7 separate regions of the Homo sapiens genome follow, and regions 1, 2, 3, 4, 5 and 6 are each linked to region 7. Evidence: promoter capture Hi-C in 16 types of primary human blood cells and fetal thymus (Javierre and others, 2016). All regions are on one chromosome and are shown on one strand. Each heading gives the region's core, a stretch centred on a gene start or on the middle of the fragment in contact. The rest is flanking DNA. Distances are from core to core; before and after follow the strand shown. Region 1 overlaps SLC25A14 (solute carrier family 25 member 14). Region 2 overlaps OCRL (OCRL inositol polyphosphate-5-phosphatase). Region 3 overlaps OCRL (OCRL inositol polyphosphate-5-phosphatase). Region 4 has its middle 53 kb from the start of APLN. Region 5 overlaps OCRL (OCRL inositol polyphosphate-5-phosphatase). Region 6 overlaps SMARCA1 (SNF2 related chromatin remodeling ATPase 1). Region 7 holds the start of BCORL1 (BCL6 corepressor like 1).

Region 1 (3,101 bases), core at 59-2,558, 370 kb after region 7:
CCCCCTTTTTTTTTTTTAAAATGCAAGCATTTCATGCTGTAAATTTCCCTCAGCACTGCTTTGGCTGCATCTCATACATTTTAATAGGTTGAATTTTGTTGTCATTTAGACCTGTGAATTAAAAAAAAATTCCTTTGACAGACACTTGGTCTGACCAATAGATTATTTAGATATATATTGTTTAATTTCTAAATGTTTGAGGATTTTTCTTATTGATTTCTGGTTTGATTCCATTATTGTCAGATAACATATTGTATATGATTTCAGTTCTTTTAAATTTGTTGAGGTTGGTTTTATGACCCAGAATGTTCAGTTTCTTGCTGAGTGTTTCATGAGTGCTTGAAAAAAATCATATTCTGCTGTTGTTGGGTAGAATGAGATGGGTAGTCCAAATAAGTAGGCTATCTAGATATGTATAATCTGAAAATGTTGAGAATAACTTTTTACTTTTTTTTTTTTCAGAATTGCTCCTGCGTTGCTAAGACAAGCATCATATGGCACCATTAAAATTGGGATTTACCAAAGCTTGAAGCGCTTATTCGTAGAACGTTTAGAAGGTCAGTATACTTACCCTCTTTTGAGGTGATACTCAAAGGGATTGTTGAAATCATGCTTAGTGAGAAATGTTGGTCATGAGGTGCCTGAGAATGGAGGAGAGTCACTGCAAAGACAAAGTGAGCTTGTTCTAACTTGGAATAAATCTTTGCAGAGGTGATATATGAATTAGAGAGACCTGTTCTTCAAATTTGTCCCTTTTCCTATCAACAAAAAAGGCATGTGATCATCCCAAAAGAAACATGGAACAATCTTGTCCAGAAAATTAATGCTATCTTCATCAATAAGAGGACTTCAACTGTAAGGCATTTTCTAGCTGGCAATTTTGATAAGCTTTTATTAGGCAGAATAATTTTAGGCTGTTTTCTAAATTCTGATGTACCTTTGGCTACCTTATGCATATTCAGCATTATCATATGTCTGTTTGCTGCTGTAGCATTTTCCATCATGATACTACACTAAATGGTTATTTTACCACAGGCCTGGGGCTGTTGGATGTTTGGGGACAGCTGGAAAGCCTTTCGGTTAGTAATGTCCTTTGAATCACTTTATTGTCCTAAAGTCAACTTTTTCTGAAGCCTTTTTTTGGGGATTGTGAAGGGTTCTCTTCCACCTCTTTCTGAAATATTTTTCTTTCATAGATTCTTCACTTGGGTTTATTTAGTTTCTATTTGTGGGGTCTTCATGGTGTGAAGGAGCGGTAAAGATTGAATTTCACTATAGAACAATGTGCTCTGTGGTTTCTTTGTTCTTTTTTCTCACTGAGGAGATTTAGTTCTAAATGATTGCTTTTTCATATTTGACTACAGAAATATTTTATAAATTAACAGAGGCTAGGAGAGATCTCAGGCCTATCAAAATTAATATTCAAATAAGTTTTTTGTATTAGACGTAAGATTTTCTCTTTTAACATTCAGTTCCTGAATCTTTAGAGTTGATGATTACCCAGAAAAAGACTTAAAAAGTATGTTCTTTAGATGTTTGAAAAGGTCGAAGGGGAAATACCACCTTCTGAATTTGTGTGTGGGATACTGATAGTTATGTAGAAGAAAAGGACGTGTTCCAGTGTCCTTTAGAAATAATGATGTTTTTAGAAATGATTTATATTTTACAAGTTTTAATATATTTTAGCACTGAATTGAGATCTAGAAATATTTGAGTTTCTTTATTTTCCTAAGCTTTTTGGTTCATTTCTAAAGTCATCTCTCTAACCAAGTTTCCCTTCCTCCAGTAGGTCAGTAGTATGTACTCAAACTGGTGCCTAATACAAGCAGACCTTTCTTTTTCTTTTCCTTTTCACAGATGAAACTCTTTTAATTAATATGATCTGTGGGGTAGTGTCAGGAGTGATATCTTCCACTATAGCCAATCCCACCGATGTTCTAAAGGTAAGAGAGATACAGTGTGATTTGAAAGGAGCATAACTTTGAGTCAGATTTGGGTTCAGATTCCCACTCTGTCACTTGCCAGCTGTAGAACCTTGGGCAAATCAGTTAACTGCATTAAGCCTCAATTTCATCATTTGAAAAATGAATATAATACAGTGTTTATAACATAGAGTTGTAAAGGATTAGCGATAATATATATATAAACTGCCTATCATTGTACTTGGTGTAGTAGATGCTCAATAAATGGCAGTCAGTTTATTATGATATGTGTTAATCCACTGGTCCTCACACTGGGGTATGCAAGACCCTATAGGTTCTTTCCAAGGGCTATGCAGTTTTATAGGAATCAATTTCCAGATCTCTTACATCCATTTGTACTCCATCCTAAAACTGGTACGAGAATGAATCTGTTCATAATAGCCCTTACTCAATTTTACAAAAGAAATGTACGTCCCCACCTATTCTAAATCTTGGTATGGTATGTTGACCTGTGGTATAACCTGGGATGCCAAACAGAGGGGTAAACTGAAATACAGTTCTTGGAGAAGCCTATTTTAGTAACCAATTTGGGTATCTTAAGTCTGTAATGCCTCTGTCTTTCCCTGTCTTATTAATATTTCTATTCAGGGTGAGATTTGGCTTTAAACATGGTATATTTTGGCCTGTATTGGAATATTCTGAATTCAGAACCAGAATAGTATAGGTTGGTGGTGCTGACTTGTTAAGAGTATAGTTGGATTTCTTTAAGGTTTTTTCAAGTCACAGACTGAAACATTTCTTTTAATATAAATTTTCATCTTATTTCATAAAATGGTAAATATTTTCTACTTATTAACGTATTTAAGCTTATGATTAGTTAAAAGCACTAAATATAGGATTAAAATAAGTGAGGGGAACCCAAAGTTTTAACAAATTATTTTAAGGGGATTGCGAGAAAAAAGTAAGAGGACACATGCTTTTTTAAATTTGACCACTAGTGAAACCACAAGTGGCTAGGTTAGCAAAGGAGAGATCTATTTATTGCAATTCAGAGAGGGGTTTGAGAACAGAGAGAAAGACATGAAAAACAACACACATGAAATAAACCACTGGTGGTTGATGGATAAAAATATGAGACAGTCTTTCTGGACTAAAATGATAGTAATTTACAGAATTTTT
Region 2 (3,076 bases), core at 577-3,076, 420 kb before region 7:
ATCATGATATAGTCCCTTACTCTCAACCAGGCATTGTGCTCAGTCTTCAATAAATGTTAGCTATTACTAGTCTGTTCCAAGTTCTTATAAACTTCTATTGTTCTAGTTAGTATATCAGTGCTTCAGGGATAGGTATGCTTCTTCGAACTCCAATCCAAGTAATTTCTACCCTTATGATAGTTTTCTGTTTAGTAATACCACTGATCAAATTGTGATCAAATCAAAGCCCTGTTACCCTGGATATGTTGGATGTTAGATTTTTTCCCCGTTTGACTTTGGGGTCTGTGTCTTTCAGGGCTTCTTGGATTTGAAGACAATTTTTCTTCTATGAATTTGGACAAGAAAATAAATTCACAAAATCAGCCTACTGGGATTCATCGGGAACCCCCACCTCCACCCTTTTCAGTGAATAAAATGTAAGTCCCATGTGAAAACATATTTGCCTTGTAGGAGAATTATAGTTTAAACAATTTTACTTTTGAATCTCTCATTTATTTGCTAGGCTTCCACGTGAAAAAGAAGCTTCTAACAAGGAGCAGCCCAAAGTGACCAACACCATGCGGAAGCTCTTTGTACCAAATACCCAATCTGGGCAGCGGGAGGGTCTCATCAAACATATCCTGGCAAAGCGAGAGAAAGAATATGTCAACATTCAGACTTTCAGGTTAGTGTCTCTTTTGCTTCCTGAGTCTAAAAAGTTAGTATATATAACAGACAGTGGCCTGTTGATATTTAAGACATTAGCCTAATTAAGAATCAAAATATGATAAAAAGGAATGGTTGCCTGTTTCAAGCTCCTGTCTCTATGCTGGCCAATAACATGCATATCAGAAATAATGCAGATGCTACAGTTTCCCTTGGATTTTCTTTTTTTGTGTGTGTGGGTCAGGGTCTCTCTTTGTCACCCAGGCTGGAGAGCAGATAGATCATGGCTTACTGTAGCCTCAACCTCTCAGTCGTAAGCAATCCTCCCACGCCAGCCCTGCAAGTAGGTGGAACTACAGGTGCACACCACCACATCCAGCTAATATTTGTGTTTTTTATAGAGACTGGGTTTCACCAGGTTGCCCAGGCTGGTCTCAAATTCCTGAGCTCAGGCAATCCACCCGCCTTGGCCTCACAAAGTGTTAGGATTACAGGCTTGAGCCACCGTGCTTGGCCTTCCCTTGGATTTTCTAACTACTAATAATGCCATGTCTACTAATGTCTCTACTGAGTCCTAGAGAACCAAATCAAGGTCACATGTACTAGAGAATTTTCCCCTAGCACATTCCATAAGCAAGCGTGTTTATATATCTGGCCTGTTAAGTTTTTTTTTTTCAGCCAATATTAGAAAATTAAAGTCCATCATTACCACTAGCTCTTAACTTACTTACTTTGGTAAATAAAGAAAGTTTCACCCAGTCCTCTTGATTGGGAGGTCTATCTTGGGTTCTTTTATCTGTATTATTTTTTATTTCATCTTTTTTCTGGACTTGTGTGTGTATGCTGCATGTGAGGTACCATGTGGCATGTATCGCCAATGCATGAAGCAACACCACATTTCTTTGTTATTCATGAGCAGAATGTACCCTTCTAGTCCAAGATTCTAGTCCCATCTGCTATCCTGTCATACCTCATTTATTCTAATTCAGTCATAACTATATCCCTATGCTAAAACTTGCAGTTCCTCATATCCCCCACTATGCTTATATTTGTGTGTAAACAGTTAAGACAGTCATGAGTTTTCCCTTCTGCTTTCCCCCTTAATACTATGTCTGCCTCATCAGAATTTCCTACACAGATGTCCTTGTAATCCTTCAGGAAGTGAGTTCCTGGAGTCAACTATAGCCCCTTATAGAACATTTATCCATATTTGACTAGCTTACAGCATGAAGATACCTCTTTCCCATCCATAAGCTCTCCTATCAAGTATGAGTTTGGATGGAGCTTAATTGAAAGGAAATGTGGTATAGCAATTACCTTTGCATTTTTTAAAAATAAAGACTTGGTTTCCTTCTGTAGTTTTACTTAATGTAAAATTTAGAGAAAATAAGCCCACTGCCTTTGTGTTCTAGATGCAAAAGATCTTTCTTACATATGTGGCAAAACATTTTGAGGAATTATGTTAGCATATTGTGAACATACCTTTGTATGGAAGCGAAAAGAAAGAACTTCTGTTGGTTTATACTTGATCTTTGTTTTCAAATTATCTTTTCGTATTATGTATTAGATTTTTTGTTGGAACTTGGAATGTGAATGGCCAGTCTCCAGATAGCGGGTTAGAACCTTGGCTGAACTGTGATCCCAATCCTCCTGATATCTACTGCATTGGGTAAAGAACACTTCTGGAATTTCCTTTTGGCTATATGTTTGGTGTTCATTTACATGATGTTTTGCCTTTTTTAAAAAAGACTGTTGGTAAAACCTACTGTAGACTATACACGAGAGTTAACTTGCGGGTCAAATTTGTGAGAACAGAAATGAACAGATACCTAAAATGGTGTAAGGAAGCATCTAATTTTCTTGAAACCCGTAGGAATCTATATATTCTGCATAGAAACTAAGACTTGGGGTCAGTTCTAACAGTGACAGTTCCTAGGATATAAGAGCAAAGCTCTGCTGTTATCCTCTGTGGGAGGTATTTTGATTTATTTTTTGCATAGCTTATGAATGTACTTGTGGGAATTCTTTAGAAAAGAAAGCTACTTGTTCTTACTGATAACCTGGGTGAACAGAGCAGTTCTATAAAATTTATCTCTCTCCCATCTTTTTTTCATCTAATGTTTCAACATATGGGACAGGAGGTAGCCAGAGATAATTATGGGATATGTATAGATCTCATATCCCTTTTTTCCTCAGATTCCAAGAACTGGACTTGAGCACAGAAGCCTTCTTCTACTTTGAATCTGTGAAGGAACAAGAATGGTCCATGGCTGTAGAGAGAGGTTTGCATTCCAAAGCCAAGTATAAGAAAGTAAGCCGCATTTAATTATCTTTTTAAGTGTATGACTAAATAGGGCTCACCGGGAGTTATTCCATTATCTACAACTTGTTCCAAAAGAATAGTTTAATTGAATTCTTCTCTGTGTGTAAT
Region 3 (3,287 bases), core at 100-2,599, 400 kb before region 7:
AGAGTCTTGAAGTCAATAGATAAGTTTATGCATGAGCCAGAGGGTATCTAGAACCATCAGAAGGGTTTGCTGATTAGTATGAGGTTGCAAATTGATATAGTTGGAAGAACATTCTGGTGTTACTTGTAGAATGGACTAATTGAAAGGAGACAAGACTTGAACTTGCCAGATGTGGCTAAGTTGTAAATACGGAGATGAAAAAAGTTGAGGGATGGGTAGAGAAACTATATTTGCTTGGGGACATATCTGTTGGGAGAACAATATCAAAAGTTTGAAATAACAGGAATAACTTGTTAATTTGTCCGTAGTGTTTTTTTCACTATGTTTTTACTTTGTCTTACTAATCTAACCATCCATTTCTTACTCTGTTAAGTATATGGCTTGTATTTCTTCTCTATTTCATATGAACTAATCCTTTTTAGAACTTCATTTTCCATTCAGTTTTCGGCTATTTATTTATTTATTTTTGAGATGGAGTCTTACCCTGTCGGCCAGGCTGTAGTGCAGTGGCACAATCTTGGCTCACTGCAACCTCCATCTCCCAGTTCAAGTGACTCTCCTGCCTCAGCCTCCCGAGTAACTGGGACTACAGGCGCGCGCCACCACGCCTGGCTAATTTTTGCCTTTTTAGTAGAGATGGGGTTTTACTGTGTTGGCCAGGCTGGTCTTGAACACCTGACCTCAGGTGATCCACCCGCCTCAGCTTCCCAAGGTGCTGGGATTACAGGCGTGAGCCACCGTGCCCGGCTATGCTTTTTATTTTTAAATTTGCATCTTCCACCTCTAATTGACTCTTTTATTTTAGCTGCATTTACCACGGGGAACAGTCTTCTGAGGGTGAATGTTGGGGTAAAGAATGATTTGCATTGCATTTGCTATGTGCCAGTGTTGTCCCACTGGGGAAATCCTGAACTAAGTTCTCTTTTTAAATGTAATCCATATATAGCCTTTTGCAGAGAATGGGCATCTCTGCTCTTTAAAATTGGTTGAACTAAGTGATTCATAGTAGAAACCTTAGGATTATTATAGGAGTAAGCTGTTTACTAATAAAGGTTAAGTGATGCTTCTGTTTTCAAAATTGAGACCAAGGTTGAATTCAATGTAATTTCTATGTTGTTTCTTTGTGCCTGTACCTAGAGAAGTAAATCTCTTGTCCCTCCATCAGTATTTAATCAAAGTCCTTTTGATTCTTCTTTCAGAATTTTCTCTTGTATTCATTCATTTGTAAGTGTATGTATATACCTTTTATTATATATATATATCCTTTAATATATATACTTAGAAATTATATATATATATATACACACACCTGTGTGTGTGTGTGTGTGTGTGTGTGTATAAAATTTTCCATTATTAAGATGTTTACCTTCTTCTGCTTGACCTACCTCGGTAGCCTTTGAATGATCCCTTTGTCTTTCTCTCTCTCTCTCTCTCTCTCTCTCTCTCTCTCTGTCTCTGTCTCTGCCCTTCATTTTTTCCTATTCAGGGCTGTCAGATTGATCTTTCTGTACTACTGCTTTGGGGCCTATCACTTCCTTGCTTAAAGGTAGTCAGTGGCTTCCCCATGCCTGCTGAATACAATCCAAATGCCTTAATCTGTCATGCAAGGTCCTCCTAAGTCTGACTTCAACATACCTTTTCAGATTTATTTCACACTATTTTTCTTGGCATTCTCCATGCCCCCCACAAACAGATGACTAACTTCTTCCTAATATCAATTTGTGATTTACTGTCTCTGTGCCTTTTGTTTATTTCTGCCTCTTCCACTTGTAATATTCTCTCCCCATCTCTACCCTTTAAAATTCTGTGAGTCTTTTAAAGGGCTAGCAATGATTTATTGAGAACTCGTATTCATGAATTATAACAATACCAGTCTGTAAACTCTGGAACTCCTCACCCCAACTCAGTTGCAAATCAGAGTCAGGGACAAACCAGGTCTTTCTCCTTTATCCTCATTTCTCATTGCCTTCCCCTGCAAAGGCATTTTAGCACAATGCCTTGTACTGGAGGATGGCTGCTGCTTAAAGAAAACTTTTTTGAGAGCCTGGTTCGACAGGTTAGTATACAAAATCTCTGTCTAGTTTTATTCATATCATGTATTAGATATTCATGGGAGGAAAAATATAAAATGTGTCAGATAGATTCTTCATTTGATAACAAGTCCTAAATTTTACAAGAGGTTCTAGTCTAAAATTGTATCAGATGTTGGGCACTCAAAATCAACTTGACATTAAAAGGTATCGTAATTATAGTACTATAAATATGTACCTTATAAAGACTATTCTAATTGCTTTATTTCATGTGATATTTAAGAGTCTAGATAAACCCACAAAAGCATGTTTAATTCGTGAAGTATCTACCAATATTAAAACGCCTAATCCCCATGGATAACAGTAGTGTGGGAGGAATGCATTCAGTATTACCACTAGGAATGCCAGGGAGCACATACTTTTCCTCCTCCCTCTCCACTCCCAGCTCCTGTGCATCTCAGACAGTAAGATTGGGATTTCTCCTTTTACCTAGCAGAACTAAGACATGTAATTTAGACTTGAGTGCTTAGTGGTCCATAGTCAGATTCGAAACAATCCAGGTTGGGAGTCACTGGGGAGGTATGAGGAACTTTGAGGAACCCAGACCTTCTGCTGGCATACTGCCCCATCACCCATTGGTTTTAGGCTGCTTCAAGGTAAATATTACTATCCCTATTTTAGAGATGAAGAAACTGAGGCTCTATGAAGTTTGGTAACTTGTGTGAGGGCTATACAAAATTGCCAAGAGGTGGAACGAAGATTTGTACCCAAGCCTGTCCAACACCAGTGCCTATACTCTTTCCATTAACCACGCTGTCTTTTAAGTGGGGTTTCTCACTGTCCTTAGCCTGTTATGGAGAATACATTCTCACAGTTTTCCTCTACCTCTCTGTCCAGGAAGCAGTCACATTGTCCTTTTTGAATTGTCTAACGGAACATAGTGATAATGACTGTGGAGTTGGTCAGACCTGGGATCCAATCCTGATTCAGCCACTTACTACCTAATAGTGAGTGTGGCCTTGGGCAAATAATTTAAGCTTTCAGAGCCTCAGTTTCTTCATCTGTAAAATGGGAATAATATCTACTTTGCACATGTGTACAGATTAAATGACTGTATATAAGCACTTTGCACAGTTCCTGATACATGACAGATGCTCCCTAAGTGGTGGTGGTAGTTATCATGGCTGCTATTATTATTGGATTGTAATAACAGCATAAAAGATAGGAAGATTAAAAAGATACCTTCTTACCTATCCC
Region 4 (3,472 bases), core at 80-2,579, 380 kb before region 7:
ATCCTGCCATCCCCCATTCTTTCAGATGAGATGAGGCACATTCACGGTGGTATGGCCGTAGACCCATCCCCCATTTTTTCAGACTGGACTTCTGTCCTTGTCTGCTCCTTGCTCCCTCTCACCACAGAGCCAACTCCTCCCAAGGCCTCAGTCTCTGCGAAAACAACACTTTCTCTGAGGAGCTTTCCCTGGCCACCTCCTAGCCTAGGCTGTAACATGTCCTTGTGACACGCTCTCCTTGCACCCTTTCCTCTCCTTCACTTTGTAATTACACATTTATTATTTGATCAAGGTCACTCTCTCCCACCAGCTCAGGAACGCTGCTGAGGCAGAGACCACATCTTTTCCTCCCCTTACTATCATATCTCCAGCAGCTAGCCTGATGCCTGGCATCCAGTAATCTTCATCATTGATTATTCCAGTGTTGGCAAAGGCAAGGAAAAACAAGCCCGCCTGCTGCTTGGACAAGAGTAAATAAGTGTCACCTTTCTAAAAGCAATGTGGCAACATGCATTAAGAGCCTGGAAGCATTCACACTCGTAATTTCACTTCTAGGAAATCACCCTAGAGGAGCGCAATGGCGTAAGTCCACCCCTGTTCATCTCAACATACTCATTAGCACAAAAAACAAAGCAATTTACATAACCTTCATCACCAGAAGAAGGGTAAACACATTGTAGATGTTTATGGATATATTATGGCGCCTTTTCAAATAATGTTTTTGAGGAATTGTGATGTGGAAAAATGTTAGGATATAACATGAGGTGGAAAAGGCAGCATATAAGTAGGTATGTACCTAATGTTCCTAAATTTAAAATATCAGATATAAAGATAATACATAGGCACAAAAATAGTGGAAGTCCATTCTCCAAACTGTTAATAGCAGTCACCCCTAGAGGGTGGCATCATGGGCAGTCGTGGCTTCAGAATGTCTACATAGGAGGGTTTAGAAACCATCGAAAGGTAGGCTAGGGGATTCGTCTTGAAGCTGCAAGATGGCCTTTGCTTAGCAAGCAGGGTTTTGCCTTACACTGCATCTATATTCAGAGTCACTATGGGGGTGCTGATGGAGATTAGGATAAAGCCCCCAAGCCACTCTCTGGAGCCAATCTCAATTTTTTTTTTTTTTTACTCTTATTTATATGTCTGGTTTTCTAAATGCTCTACAATGAAGATGTATGACTTTTATAATCAGAAAAAGATTAAGGAAAACATTATTTCATGAAAGAAAGGCACTTCTGTGTGTTGGGATGAATGAACACAGTGTCCTGCTCAAGCACATAGGCGGCTGGACAGGGCCTTGCCAGCACAGTCGCTCACCGCAGCTCCCTCACATCACAAGCCTGCCCTCTCCCTCGCACCCGCAGGCATCTGTCCTCCAGCTGCTGACACAGCTGGGCAGCAAAGGTCCCATCTTGACTGTGCACCTCGGAGGCAGCACCGTGGAGCATGGAGTTCTAAGGCATGTCCACGGGCCAAGCACACTTGTAAAGGCCATTTGACAACAATGGGCTATACCCCTCTACCTCTAACGGTGGCCCTGGCTTTGAAGAGCAAGGATCGTTTTCTGATTGTAGCTGTGGCCACTAGATGGCAGAGGAGAATGACGGTTTCCAGTTGTATAATAAAATTGGTATTTAAAGCTGCAGTTACTTTTCTTATTTCATGATCATTTCTATTTTGGGAAATTCGGTTGACTTTTCTCCTTACAGTCTCTTACTTATGGCCTTAAAAGTCCACAAAAACAAAAACTTTTTTTTTTCAGAACTAGGTTAAAAGTATCTAAAGTTCATGGAAGTTTCAGCACTCTTCATTGAACACAGGTAGAATTAAATCACATTTTCCTCTCTTGCCTCTTTCACTGTCCATCAATGTTTCAAGTTATTTTGAAAGTGTCAACAATGGTTGGGAGGTGATCTCACTGCTGAAAGGTAATGACTTCGATCTTCTCTGGAGAGGGGTCAGCTGGGAAGGAACGATGGAATCAATCGAGGCAGTTGGAGAGGCGGGGAGAAACACAGTTGTGACCTGGGAAGAAACAGACTAATCCCTGGCCAGAAGATGGCACAGCAAAGTGGAGAGGAAGGAGACCAAAAGGGAATGGGGCTTGTTACAGGTTCAGTTGTATCCCCCCAAAATCGATATGTTGAAGTCCTAATCCCCAGTACCTGTGAATGTGACCTTATTTGGAAATAGACTCGTCACAGATATAATTAGTTAAGTAAGATGAGGTTATACTGGGAGTAGGGTGGGCCCTAATCTAATATAACTGGTTTCCTTATAAAAAAGGGAAATTTGGACAGAGACACACACACAGGGAGAACACTGTGTAAAGGCAAAGGCAGGGATCAGGGTGATGCATCTCTAAGCCAAAGAATGCCAAAAATTGCCAGCAAACCATCAGAAGCTCAGGATGGGCATGAGACAGATTCTCTTTCACAGCCCTCAGAAGGAACCAACCCTGCTGACCTCGATTTCACACTCTGGCCTCCAGATCTGTGAGACAACATGTTTCTAAGCCTCCCACTGTGGTACTTTGTTACTGCAGCCCTGGGAAACTAATACAAGGATTTTGGAGCCATGGAATAGTGGTAAAATCGTAATAGAATTTCTTCACTCACTTCTAGGACTGTTGGACCTGATACGTGGGGGTGATGGCTGAAGGATAGAAGTTTCCTCCTCTACCATTCTATCATCCCCTCCACAATCACATTTCTCATTTCTTTTCTTTTTTTTTTTTTTCTCTCTTTTTTTTTTTTTGAGACAGAATTTCGCTCCTGTTGCCCAGGCTGGAGTGCAGTGGCGCGATCTCGGCTCACTGCAACCTCTGCCTCCCAGGTTCAAGTGATTCTCCTGCCTCAGCCTCCTTAGTAGCTGGGATTACAGGCACATGCCACCACGCCCGACTAATTTTTCATATTTTTAGTAGAGACAGGGTTTCACCATGTTGGTCAGCTGGTCTCGAACTCCTGACGTCAGGTGATCCACCCACCTCGGCTTCCCAAAGTGCTGAGATTACAGGTATGAGCCACATTTCTTGAACGAGTTGTCTCCACTTGTTGTCCCCACTTTCTTACCTCCACTCACCCCTCAACCCTTTCTAGCCCATTCCTCTGACATGATTCTCACCAAGGTCACCAGCAACCTCCATGCTGCCAAAACCAAAGGTCGTTTCTCAGTCCTCACCTAACCCAACCTCTCAGCAGCATTCCACCCCTTCTTCAGGAACACTCCCTTCACCGGGGTGCAGGAACTCCACACTCTTCCCAGAGTTCCTGCTGCCTCACCAACCACTCCATCTCCATCTCCATTGCAGGCTCCTCTACTTTCTTGGCCCCGCCACTAGATGATGGCATGTGCTGAGGTTTAGGCTTGGGTCACTTCTCTTCTTACTCTATACTCTCTCTCTCGCTCCATAAACCCCACTCACTCCTCTGTCTGCAGCTGTCTCCAAACTCTATCTGAAGCAGTC
Region 5 (3,303 bases), core at 1-2,500, 440 kb before region 7:
TTCCAAGCCTCTGGATTGTGCTTGGCAGTGTGGCTCAGTGGAAGGACTGAATGGGCGGGGAAGCAGGAAGCCTGGGTTCTTAGTTCCTGCCCCTGCAACTGACATGTGTTGTGTAACGTTGGGCAAGTCAATAAAGCTTTCTGGGCCAAAGTTAACTCTTCAGTTTAATAAAACCATTAACTGCCTTACCTTACAGCCTTTGGAATTATAACTGGGGGAAAAATAAATGCGAGAGTGGCTTCCAAAAAGTAAAAGTGCTATGGAAATGCTTCATTGTTAACGTTACAGACTTGTCTTAACCCTATTCAGCTGGTTTCTCCAGTCTCCCCGTCCCCTTATCCCACTGGGTTGAAGGCATATTCATTAATTCAGTAATGGTTTAGTGTAGGCCAGAAACTGCCTCACTTACTGACTTTACTGTTAGAAAGAAAAGGTAATGAAATGTGTAGAGATAGAAATGACAGTATTTTATCAGTGTGTCACCTTCCTCTCTGCCATAGGAGCTCCGTAAATACTGTTGACTGATTGATCAAAAGATTATTTTGATAAGCTATCACCATAGCTGCTAACCTCACTCTATTGTCACTAATATCTTATCTCAAAAATATCCATGGTGACCATTACGTATCATAGGCCCCTATCCCTGTGTGCCCAAGACACCTCACTTGGATATTCATTGGCTTCTTGACATCATATTCCTTCCCAGTTTAAAAATTGTTCACTTAAATCTTGCCATCTCCCAACATTGGCTTCTGCCTAAAACCAATTTTCTCAGTCCCCACTTTTAGATCCTCTGTATCTATGCTGTCAGATTTACACGGAAGAAATTCCCACTGGCCCAACCTGCTCTTCTCTGAGACTATTGGTGCCACTCTAACTGGATGTCAGCTAATTCTGTGAAGTAGCTCTTTCATAGGTCCTGCTTAGTCAGCTCTACTGGGAAGTTCATCAAACCCGGATTTCATCAAACCCTGGAAGACTAGTTTAATGAAACTAAACTAAATTCAGAATTTAATAAAACAAAATTCAGCAGAAAAGTGGAACACCACTAACATTTCCAAAGGCTAGAGTGGGTTACAGAGAGGTGACCCTTGGGCAAACCAGTAAAACTTGTGTGCCTTGGTTTCCTCTAATGTAAAAACAAAATCATGAAGATTGAATAGAGTAGCTACATTGTTGAGATGACCACAGCCCAGAATCTAGTCCCTCGGATTAGTAGATTTGGAACTCTGTTGAGCTAATAAGGAAGTCGTGTGTTCCAATTCTGTGTAAGTTATGGGGGTATAGTTGGGGGTATATGTGGGGGTATGGGGCTGCTATATAACTAACATTAATATATAGGTAACACTATATAACAACTATATAACTAACAACTAATATAGTTGTTGCTATATTAGCAGTTTATATATAAACTATGTAAATAGTTTTAAATATATATAAACTATAGTTTTAAATACATATAAACTATAGTTTATATATAAACTAACATATAACTAACAACTAATATAGTTGTTGCTATATAACTAACATTCAATGGCTGCTTATGTGCCAGGTACTGTTCTAAGCCCTTTTCATTAGTTAGTTCATTTAATCCACATGTGAGGGTTACTATAAGATAGTAATATCATCATCCCCCTTTTATAGATACAGAAATTGAAGCACAGACAGGTTAAGTCACTTGTTTGCAATTAGGGAGTAGAATACCTGAGATCTGATCCTATGTAACATGTCTCAGAATTACACTGAGAAGTTTCTCTTGAAAGCATTTGCTGGAGACACCTAATACCATAATACCATCTGTAATCCTCATATTCTTGTCTCTCTGGTGTCTTTTCTGACTCGAGTGTCCAGAACTTTTTACTTTTGGCTTTTTTATCCTAGAACTTGAAGCCTGACTTAAATCTTTAGGTCTGTGGTTCCTACTGTCAACCATAGGAAATTTGCTTGACCAAAATTACAATTAAAAATCAGGGTTTTTTTGGAAACAGGGAATCAAACACTTAAGATTCATATTTTTCAAGGATAATAGATTATGACAAAACCTGTTTGACCTTTAACCTTCCTTGAACAAATCAAAGTGTTTCCTAGGGATAAGGCAGAGTTGGCATTCAGGATTTGTCACTCTTTTCTGTTTGACAACTACCAAATTCTGAATTCCATTGTTTTGCTGTATACCAATTATTTCTAATCTTTATATTCTGAAATGAATAATTACACTCAGAATTTTTATGCTTATTCTTAGCCCTACTCTTTTATTGTAATTTAGTGGGTAACACGTAGTAAATACTCAATAAATGTTGGTGAAATTCACTTAAATTCTCAGTTTATTTGTTTTGTAATAGTTTTTAACAGTACTGTCCAGATGAAGCTTTAATGCTAATGTTCAACACCATTTCTTGTTTATGTATTTTGAGATTTTAGTGGTTTGTGTTTATCTTCCTCAAAGTAAGCTCTTCCTCCTTAACCCTTGATTTCTCAGCCTTTTATCTGGTTTCTGGTTTCCATCTGGGTTTATAGGACTCTCCACTCAACTCATGAACTTTCCAGATGGAAAGGGGCCTGCCCCATATTCCTGTAATCACCTTAGAGTACAAACCCCTGCAAATTAGGCAAGAAGGATCACAGCAGAAAAACAGCATTAATACTTTTATTTCCCTTAGTTCTATCTAAGTAATTACTTATCCTATCCCAGGTTATCCTCTTCAAAGTTAACACATTTGAAAATGCAAAAAGCAAAAGCAACAAGCACCCCCAAAAGACAACAAAATAGAAATCAAACCCTTCAAAACAATGACATTTTAATGTCAGAAGTTGGACAGTTTCATTGAAAAATTCACCGCTGCTTATAGCTTAATTAAGCTAGTTAATTTATTCAGCCAGTATTTGTTGAGCATCTATTAGGCTGCAGACAAAACTGAATATGATCTGGTCTTTGCTTTCAAGGAGCTGAAATCAGTGAGGGGAAATAAATATAACCATAATGGAGTGTGTAAGTGTTCTATTAGAGGGGCAAACAAAGGCGATAAGGCTGCTGGTTCTGCTTGGGGGTACTGAGGACAGTTTCATGGAGGAGGTGATATTTGAGATGAAACTCGGAAAGAAACAGAGTGTTCCTGACAAAAAACTAAAAACAATACTTGAAGAGTGCTTGACTTTGAGAATGCTAGTTGACGTTCAGAATGGCTGTTTACCAGTAGGTCGTACCTTGATTCTGGACCACTAAGGATAAATAATAAATGAAAAATTAATATTTCAGGAGTACGTATGGATTTAGAAGTATGGATTTCATCTGGGGAGTCAGGT
Region 6 (3,062 bases), core at 563-3,062, 460 kb before region 7:
CAACCGTCACTTAAACCAACTAAATTCAACAACCAGAAAGTAAGCAAAAACACCTTTGAGTAGGTAAATGTCACAGGTCAATTCACTAATTCTCATCTACTGTATTCATCATGAAAGCGCTCTCATTCAGAAACCTATTTTCTTTTTATTTGGTAGACAATTCCACCAAGTTTGAAAATCTGGCTTCCCATGTCACCGAGAATACAAGCAACAGTAAATGACATGGAAAGATCACTAGATGAAGGCACTCTACAAGAAGACACGGCAGAAACCAAGGACGAAAATGTCTTCCACTGCAGTAGCATCACTGATTCTTGGTGTGCACGTGTCATTATTTCCCTCTCCCTGTTTTATCACTGACACTTTTGTATTTTACAGTGGTTTTCAAATGAGTTTATGGTTTTGTTACACCTATAATCTTTATCATAAACTAACATATTATTTCTGGTGAAACTAGAGGTGTTTAAAAAGTGATCGCTAACAGCCTGGCAATTAAGGAAGAAGACAGAAAATTTTTATTTATTTATTTATTTTGAGACGGAGTCTCACTCTGTTGCTCAGGTTGGAGTGCAGTGGTGGGATCTCGGCTCACTGCAACCTGAGCCTTCCGGGTTCAAGCGATTCTCCTGCCTCAGCCTCCCAAGTAGCTGGGATTACAGGTGCCTGCCACCACACTTGGCTAATTTTTTTTTTTTGGTATTTTTAGTAGAGACGGGGTTTCACCATATTGGCCAGGCTGGTTTCGAACTCCTGACCTCAAGTGATCTACCCGCCTCGGCCTCCCAAAGTGCTAGGATTACAGGCGCGAGCCACCGCGCCCGGCTGGAAAAATTATTTTTAAAAATCAACACAACACTGCAAGAGTCTGGTAGGTGGTTACTTAATTGAGAGGGAACAACCTGCGGGATTTCAGGTGCCTTTGTGTCACTGTCAAAGTACACTAACTGATGGCCATGAAGAAGAGGTTAATCTGCACTTTTAGTATGCAATTTAAAGTGTCAAGGTAGTATGTAATGTATTTCATTTTTTAAGGAAAAATTAAAAATAAAAATGGATATCCAGGAAGTTCCTGACATACAGCACCTCATTTCCCTGTCCTGGGTGGACAAATGAAGTACTGGTAGGGCAATTTCTAATGAGGCAAGAGTTGACAAATATGTAGGCATCAACTCAGTGTTTATATTATATAGCTTTTTTATTGGTCTCCCGTTTTTTCACAATACAAAATTTTATACAAAATTCAAAAATTTATACAATCTGGAAATTCGACAACCTCTCCTGCCATACAAAAGGCAGTTTGGCACTCACATTTGCCCAGTCCAGGGAATAAAAGGCACACAGACATTTCCGAATTTCACAACATTTGATTTATATTGATGCTTGGTATTACACCCACTTTTAACCAACAATATTGTCTTACTAATCCAAGTACCGCGTAGATCTTACAATGTGTATGTTTTCTACGGTTTTCATTTAGCACTACAATTGTCCTTCTGTTTAGTCAACCTTGTAATAGTAAAATATGTCACAGAAGCAACTGCTAAATTTAAAATTACTCTTCTCATTTAAGGCGAAAGGTGTTCATTTTCCTCAAAAGCTTTTCATTTGGTCGTATAGTATCATATAATGATTCAGACAAAGCCACTTGAGATCTCTAAAGCATAATTACCCACCTTTTTAAAATTGCGATATGACTACTCGTAAATAGGAAAAAATCCACACATAAACCATTAGTTATGCAATTTTATCATACATCAAAAATGCTTATGCCCCATCCTATTTTTATGTCAATTTTTCAACGTTTTATAGTTTTATTTGCATGTCTCGGGCCACACGAAATGTGCCTTATGGAGATAATACATATTTTCTGGATTGGCTTTAATATGTGTCAGAGCAGTTCCCTTACGTTAGAAGCAGCTCATCTTGGCGACGCTGAGTTTTTTAAAAATTAAAGGAGAAAAAAAAAAAAAACCTGTGTGTGTCCAGGAGCCAGCAGCGCCCACTAGGAGAGGGAGGCGGAAGCCTGGAAAGCTTGGGGCCGGATTGAGGGACCATTGGGGTGGCCCTGGAGTGAAACCCTATACCGTCGGGGGCGGGGCAGAAGAGGGTGAGGGTGCAGATGTTGGAAATTTTCCTAAGCCAGCGTCCACGGTTCCTCAGTTTGGGGGGGCGGGGGGGTACGACGCAGAGAGCTCCTTTCCTCGGGGTGACACCCCCACCTCGGCAGGCGGGGTTCAAACGAACAAGGGATGGTTTTTTTCCTGCCATCCAAAAGACCGACATTGCCAATGAAAGAAAGAAATGTCTTCCCTGTCACCCTCCACCCAGCAACCACCAGCACCTTGAAATTCAAATTACAAAAAAAGCCCCAGCAAAACCCCTTTAGCGCGAGTGTGGGATTGAAGGGCCCAGATTTCCCAGGCAGAGGCCGACGGGAAGGCGGGGGGAGAGGGAGCGAGCGAGAGGAGAGGGAGAGGCGGAGGCTTTTTCCTGCACAGCCCCATCCCCCACCCCGTTACCCGAGTTCCGGGAAGGTGGAGGGGGTCGGGGGCTGTCGAGGGGCTCCCGAGCCCCCAGGCCCCGGGAGAGCGGGCACCCCTCCACCCCGCGCCGCTCCCGCCCGCGCCCAGCCCCGCCCCCGTCCTCCAGGCGGCGAGAAGGAAAGGGGGAGGGGAGCGAACGCCAGGCGGTTCCGCCGCCGACCCCCGCACCCGCCGCCCCTAGCCCCGCAAAGCTCCGCGGGTACCTGTCGGCGCCGAAAGGTCAGGGTTTGGGCCCCTCAGAGGGGCCAGGCACAGGATTTGTCCACCACACACACACCCCCTTCCTATTTACCTCCTTCTTCTTCTCGCCCTTCTCCGTGGCCGCGGTGGCTTCGGTGGCCGCGGCGGCCGCTCCCTCCTCCTGAGAGGTGGACGGCCCGGGCTGCTCGTCCTCTATGACCACGATAGTGGCGGTCGCATCCGCGGCTGCCACGGTGGCTGCCACTGCGGCAGTGTCCTGCTCCATGCCGTGGGAGCGGGAACGAGTAGGGGGACAAGGCAGGGGACGAGGGCTCCTGG
Region 7 (3,051 bases), core at 149-2,648:
TCGTAGTGGGGGCCGCGGACCCTCCCCGCCACAGTCCTTTTACTCTCCAGCACTCCCACCGCCTTCCCCCTTCTTCAGCCATCTGACTCTCCTAGGGGTATGTGTTTTTGGGGGTGGACGGCGACGGGGGTGGGGGATACTTTCCTTCCCGTGGCGGCAACCTAGTTCGTATCTTATTCCTACAAGGTAGCGTCGCTTCGAGTCGCATGGACATTGGGGTTTAGATAATTTACCCCCCACCCAAGCGATTTAATGGCTTTTAAGCAAAAGGCGAATACCTGGATTTCCATGGGAGGGATGAGGTTTGAAGATTGGGATTCACCCCTAGCTCACTTCCACTACCAACCCCTCTTTCTTGTGAGCCACTTCCACGGGTATTCAAATCTGGGGGGGAGGGGGGACGGGAGTATTAATATGCTTCTCTATTTCTACACAGGGTCGGCGTGGCGAAGGACGGCTAGCCTTGGAGGGAAAGTAGCCACCAGTCCAACTCGGGTCGCCCCCACCATTATTTCGGTGAGGGGGCAACGCTAAGAAGGGGATACTGGTGGGTAGGGGCCCAGTATAAGGGAGGGGGCTGGGTAGTCGTCCCCAGAAGGACTCCGTGTCTTGGCGGGGAGAGAGAGAGGCGAGCCCCGGCTTCAGGGGAGGGGTTCCGGGGAGGGAGATGGGGGGGTGGCGACGACGGTGGGGGGGGGAGCGGGAAGAAGGGGGAGTCACGCCCTGCCTGCAAGGGGAGCCTCCCTCAGGCCCCTGGGAGAAGGGGACTGAATGCGTCTGTTCTCCGCTGCCCGGCAGAGGAGATCTGGGGTCTCGAGATTTGCACACTGGATCGGCACCAGTGGCCTGAGAAAGTCAGGTCGGGGCATAAGGTGGAGAACGTTGGAAGAAAGAGAGAGAACCCTTTGGCCGCGGCTCACTGACCCTCTCCCTTCCTCAACCTCCCCCTTCGAGGGGCGTCGAGGTGGGGGGGGACGTGGGGCTCCTGCAGCCCCGCAGATTGAGCGCCTCCGCCTCTCCCAGGAGTCTAGCTTTTTGCCCGGCTTGCTGCAGCCACTGCTGCCTCCCTCTCCGGAATCCGCTCGGTCCTCTCAGCGATCCCCTCCTCCTCTCCTCCCCTCCCAGTGTCACCGGGGCTGCTTGGCTCTGCCCCCTTCGCCGCCGCTTGCTCCCTGCTTTCGTCCCTCCCTCTCTTGCTCGCTCCCTCCCTTCGCCTCCTCCTCCCCATTCCCCCCCACCCGCGTAGGCCGCATTCTGGGAGTTGTAGTCCGGTGGAGCGGGGGTTGGCGCCGCCCGCGGACCCAGCCGGACTCCACTTCCCGTCGAGCCCTGCGACCGGCACCCACTCCACCAGGCTTCGCTCGCACACAGACACACACACACACCGCTCTCCCCCTCACTCTTTCGCTCGCCGCGGCTGCTGCCAGTGTGTGGCTCTGTCTCTCCTCCGCTTTGCTGAGCCCTCCCTTCTTCCTCTCAGTTCCTAGAGTCCGACCGCCGCCGCCGCCGAGAGAGAGGAGAAGGAGGTCGGTGGCGATAAGGGGCGGAGGGGGGCATCAGATCGGGGCAGTATTAGGCGGGTGGCGGTTAAGAGGGAGTAAGAGGGAGCCCGGGTGGCGGCCTGAGCCTCCCCGCGGAGCCGACCCGGGAACAGGTGCGTCTTTTTTCTCTCTCCCCCAATCCCTCCACCCCTTTTGACTCCCCGGCTTTTTCGTATCCCCCCACCCGCTTCTTTCTATCTTAAGCCTTTCTCCAACCCTGTTCCTTCTTTTCCCTGCGGCCGCTCGGCTTGCCCCCCGGGGGCGCCGTCCTCTTCGTGTCCCCGGACGTAGCGCTCCCTGGAGCTGGGTATGTCTTCGCCCCTCCCTTCGGGACAGCTCCCTTCCACTTCCCACCTTCGTACCCCATCCCCTGACTTGCCCTACCCCCTTCTCGACCCCCTTCTCTCTTAGCCAGGTGAGACTCGTTCGCCACGATCCAAGAGAGTCTTCTTCCCGGCTGGGCGGGGGTCTCCATGGAAACGGGGGTCGGTTGATCCTGGGGGGGAAACCATAGGAATTACCCCACTCCTCGGAAAGGGAGGTGGAGGCTATGGTCTTGTTAACTACCTGACTCCAACCCCCGATCCAAGGATCCGACGATCCGAAGGGAGGCTGGCTAGCAGGGCAGGGCGAGAAAAGGCTTTTTTTTGGGGGGGGGGGGTGTCCGTGATGAAGTGTTGAAGAGACCGGGAGAAAATGCCCTCCAACCTCAGAGGGGAGGTGCGACGGGTGCTCTTCAGGGCTGCTTTCTTCCCGGCGCTGGGGTGCGGGAATCGTAGGGTAAGGGGTACCCCTAGGTGGCGGCGGGGCCTGGGTTCGGGAGTGGGAGTGCTGTGATGGGGGCAGGGGCAATTATCCGAGTCCCTGGAAAAAAGGCGGGGGATGACTTCGGAGCGCCCTGGCTCCGCTGCCCTCGCTCTAGGGGCGGGGGCCGCCGGGCCGGGCGCGGCGGGGAGGGGGCTTAAATTGAAGGAAGATGAGATCGGGGGCAATTCATACTAGCACCGGCAAGCCAGAGGGGAGATCCGGCGTGCAAGCCCTCCACCCGCTTCGCGCCAGGCCTGGAGGCAAGGGGTCGGCGAGCGAAGCCGAGGGCTGGAAGGAGGGAGGCTCCGGTTACGGGGCCGGGTTTCGGGATCAGGGGCAATCCCCCGGCCCTTGGAGAAGGAGGGAGAGGGATGGCCGCGAACCCCAGGGCTCCCCCACCCCGGGTCCTAAGGGGCGTGAGGGACGGACAGCAGGCCCAGCGGAGCTGGATTCGAGCGGATCGCGGCCGGGGAGTGGGAGGGCTTAGTGGTGGGCTTCGGGGGGAGCAGTCCGGCGGCGGGGCGGGCGGGCGGGGCGTGGGGCTCCGGCGGGCGGCGGGGCGGGGCCGGGGGCGGCGCTGCTGCCGCCGCCGCTGCCGCCGCCGCCGCTGCTGCTCCTGCTGGGGCCGCCGCAGCCGTTGCCGCCGCCGCCGCCGCCGCTTCTGGGCGGGGAACGGAGGCCAAAGAGAGTCCCGTGCCGGGGC

The links. The method cuts DNA at HindIII sites, captures the fragments that hold promoters and counts their contacts. A CHiCAGO score of 5 or more calls a contact.
Region 1: a fragment that was not itself captured here is called in contact with the fragment with the promoter of BCORL1 in region 7 in 1 of 17 cell types (non-activated CD4 T cells); the score reaches 5.5 in non-activated CD4 T cells.
Region 2: a fragment that was not itself captured here is called in contact with the fragment with the promoter of BCORL1 in region 7 in 2 of 17 cell types (total B cells and M1 macrophages); the score reaches 5.6 in total B cells.
Region 3: a contact is called between a fragment that was not itself captured here and the fragment with the promoter of BCORL1 in region 7, in 11 of 17 cell types (M2 macrophages, activated CD4 T cells, M0 macrophages and 8 more). The highest score is 7.9, in M2 macrophages.
Region 4: a contact is called between a fragment that was not itself captured here and the fragment with the promoter of BCORL1 in region 7, in 14 of 17 cell types (non-activated CD4 T cells, total B cells, M2 macrophages and 11 more). The highest score is 18.0, in non-activated CD4 T cells.
Region 5: a fragment that was not itself captured here is called in contact with the fragment with the promoter of BCORL1 in region 7 in 7 of 17 cell types (M2 macrophages, total B cells, non-activated CD4 T cells and 4 more); the score reaches 9.4 in M2 macrophages.
Region 6: a fragment that was not itself captured here is called in contact with the fragment with the promoter of BCORL1 in region 7 in 1 of 17 cell types (naive CD4 T cells); the score reaches 5.7 in naive CD4 T cells.

What each region holds. Positions count from the first base shown.
Region 1 is chrX:130,348,789-130,351,889 of GRCh38, forward strand. It overlaps SLC25A14 (solute carrier family 25 member 14), which reads left to right. Exons shown (of 11, transcript NM_001282195.2): 5 at 463-557; 6 at 1,858-1,943. Among named protein-coding and RNA genes, the nearest start is that of SLC25A14, 10 kb to the left of the region's middle. The HindIII fragment of the contact is 845 bases long and covers 887-1,731 here.
Region 2 is chrX:129,558,338-129,561,413 of GRCh38, forward strand. It overlaps OCRL (OCRL inositol polyphosphate-5-phosphatase), which reads left to right. Exons shown (of 24, transcript NM_000276.4): 7 at 296-416; 8 at 503-664; 9 at 2,213-2,314; 10 at 2,842-2,956. Among named protein-coding and RNA genes, the nearest start is that of OCRL, 20 kb to the left of the region's middle. The HindIII fragment of the contact is 2,612 bases long and covers 521-3,076 here.
Region 3 is chrX:129,580,416-129,583,702 of GRCh38, forward strand. All of the region lies in intron 18 of OCRL (OCRL inositol polyphosphate-5-phosphatase), which reads left to right. Among named protein-coding and RNA genes, the nearest start is that of OCRL, 42 kb to the left of the region's middle. The HindIII fragment of the contact is 3,432 bases long and covers 1-3,065 here.
Region 4 is chrX:129,599,734-129,603,205 of GRCh38, forward strand. No RefSeq gene overlaps it. Among named protein-coding and RNA genes, the nearest start is that of APLN, 53 kb to the right of the region's middle. RefSeq lists enhancers at 858-1,358, 1,359-1,859. The HindIII fragment of the contact is 5,330 bases long and covers 1-3,472 here.
Region 5 is chrX:129,540,990-129,544,292 of GRCh38, forward strand. All of the region lies in intron 2 of OCRL (OCRL inositol polyphosphate-5-phosphatase), which reads left to right. Among named protein-coding and RNA genes, the nearest start is that of OCRL, 2.4 kb to the left of the region's middle. The HindIII fragment of the contact is 2,232 bases long and covers 135-2,366 here.
Region 6 is chrX:129,520,362-129,523,423 of GRCh38, forward strand. It overlaps SMARCA1 (SNF2 related chromatin remodeling ATPase 1), which reads right to left. Exons shown (of 25, transcript NM_001282874.2): 1 at 2,836-3,062. The coding sequence starts at 3,009. Among named protein-coding and RNA genes, the nearest start is that of SMARCA1, 1.6 kb to the right of the region's middle. The HindIII fragment of the contact is 434 bases long and covers 1,596-2,029 here.
Region 7 is chrX:129,981,237-129,984,287 of GRCh38, forward strand. BCORL1 (BCL6 corepressor like 1) reads left to right here and starts at 1,399. Exons shown (of 14, transcript NM_001379451.1): 1 at 1,399-1,526. RefSeq lists a silencer at 2,228-2,464. The HindIII fragment of the contact is 8,398 bases long and covers 1-3,051 here.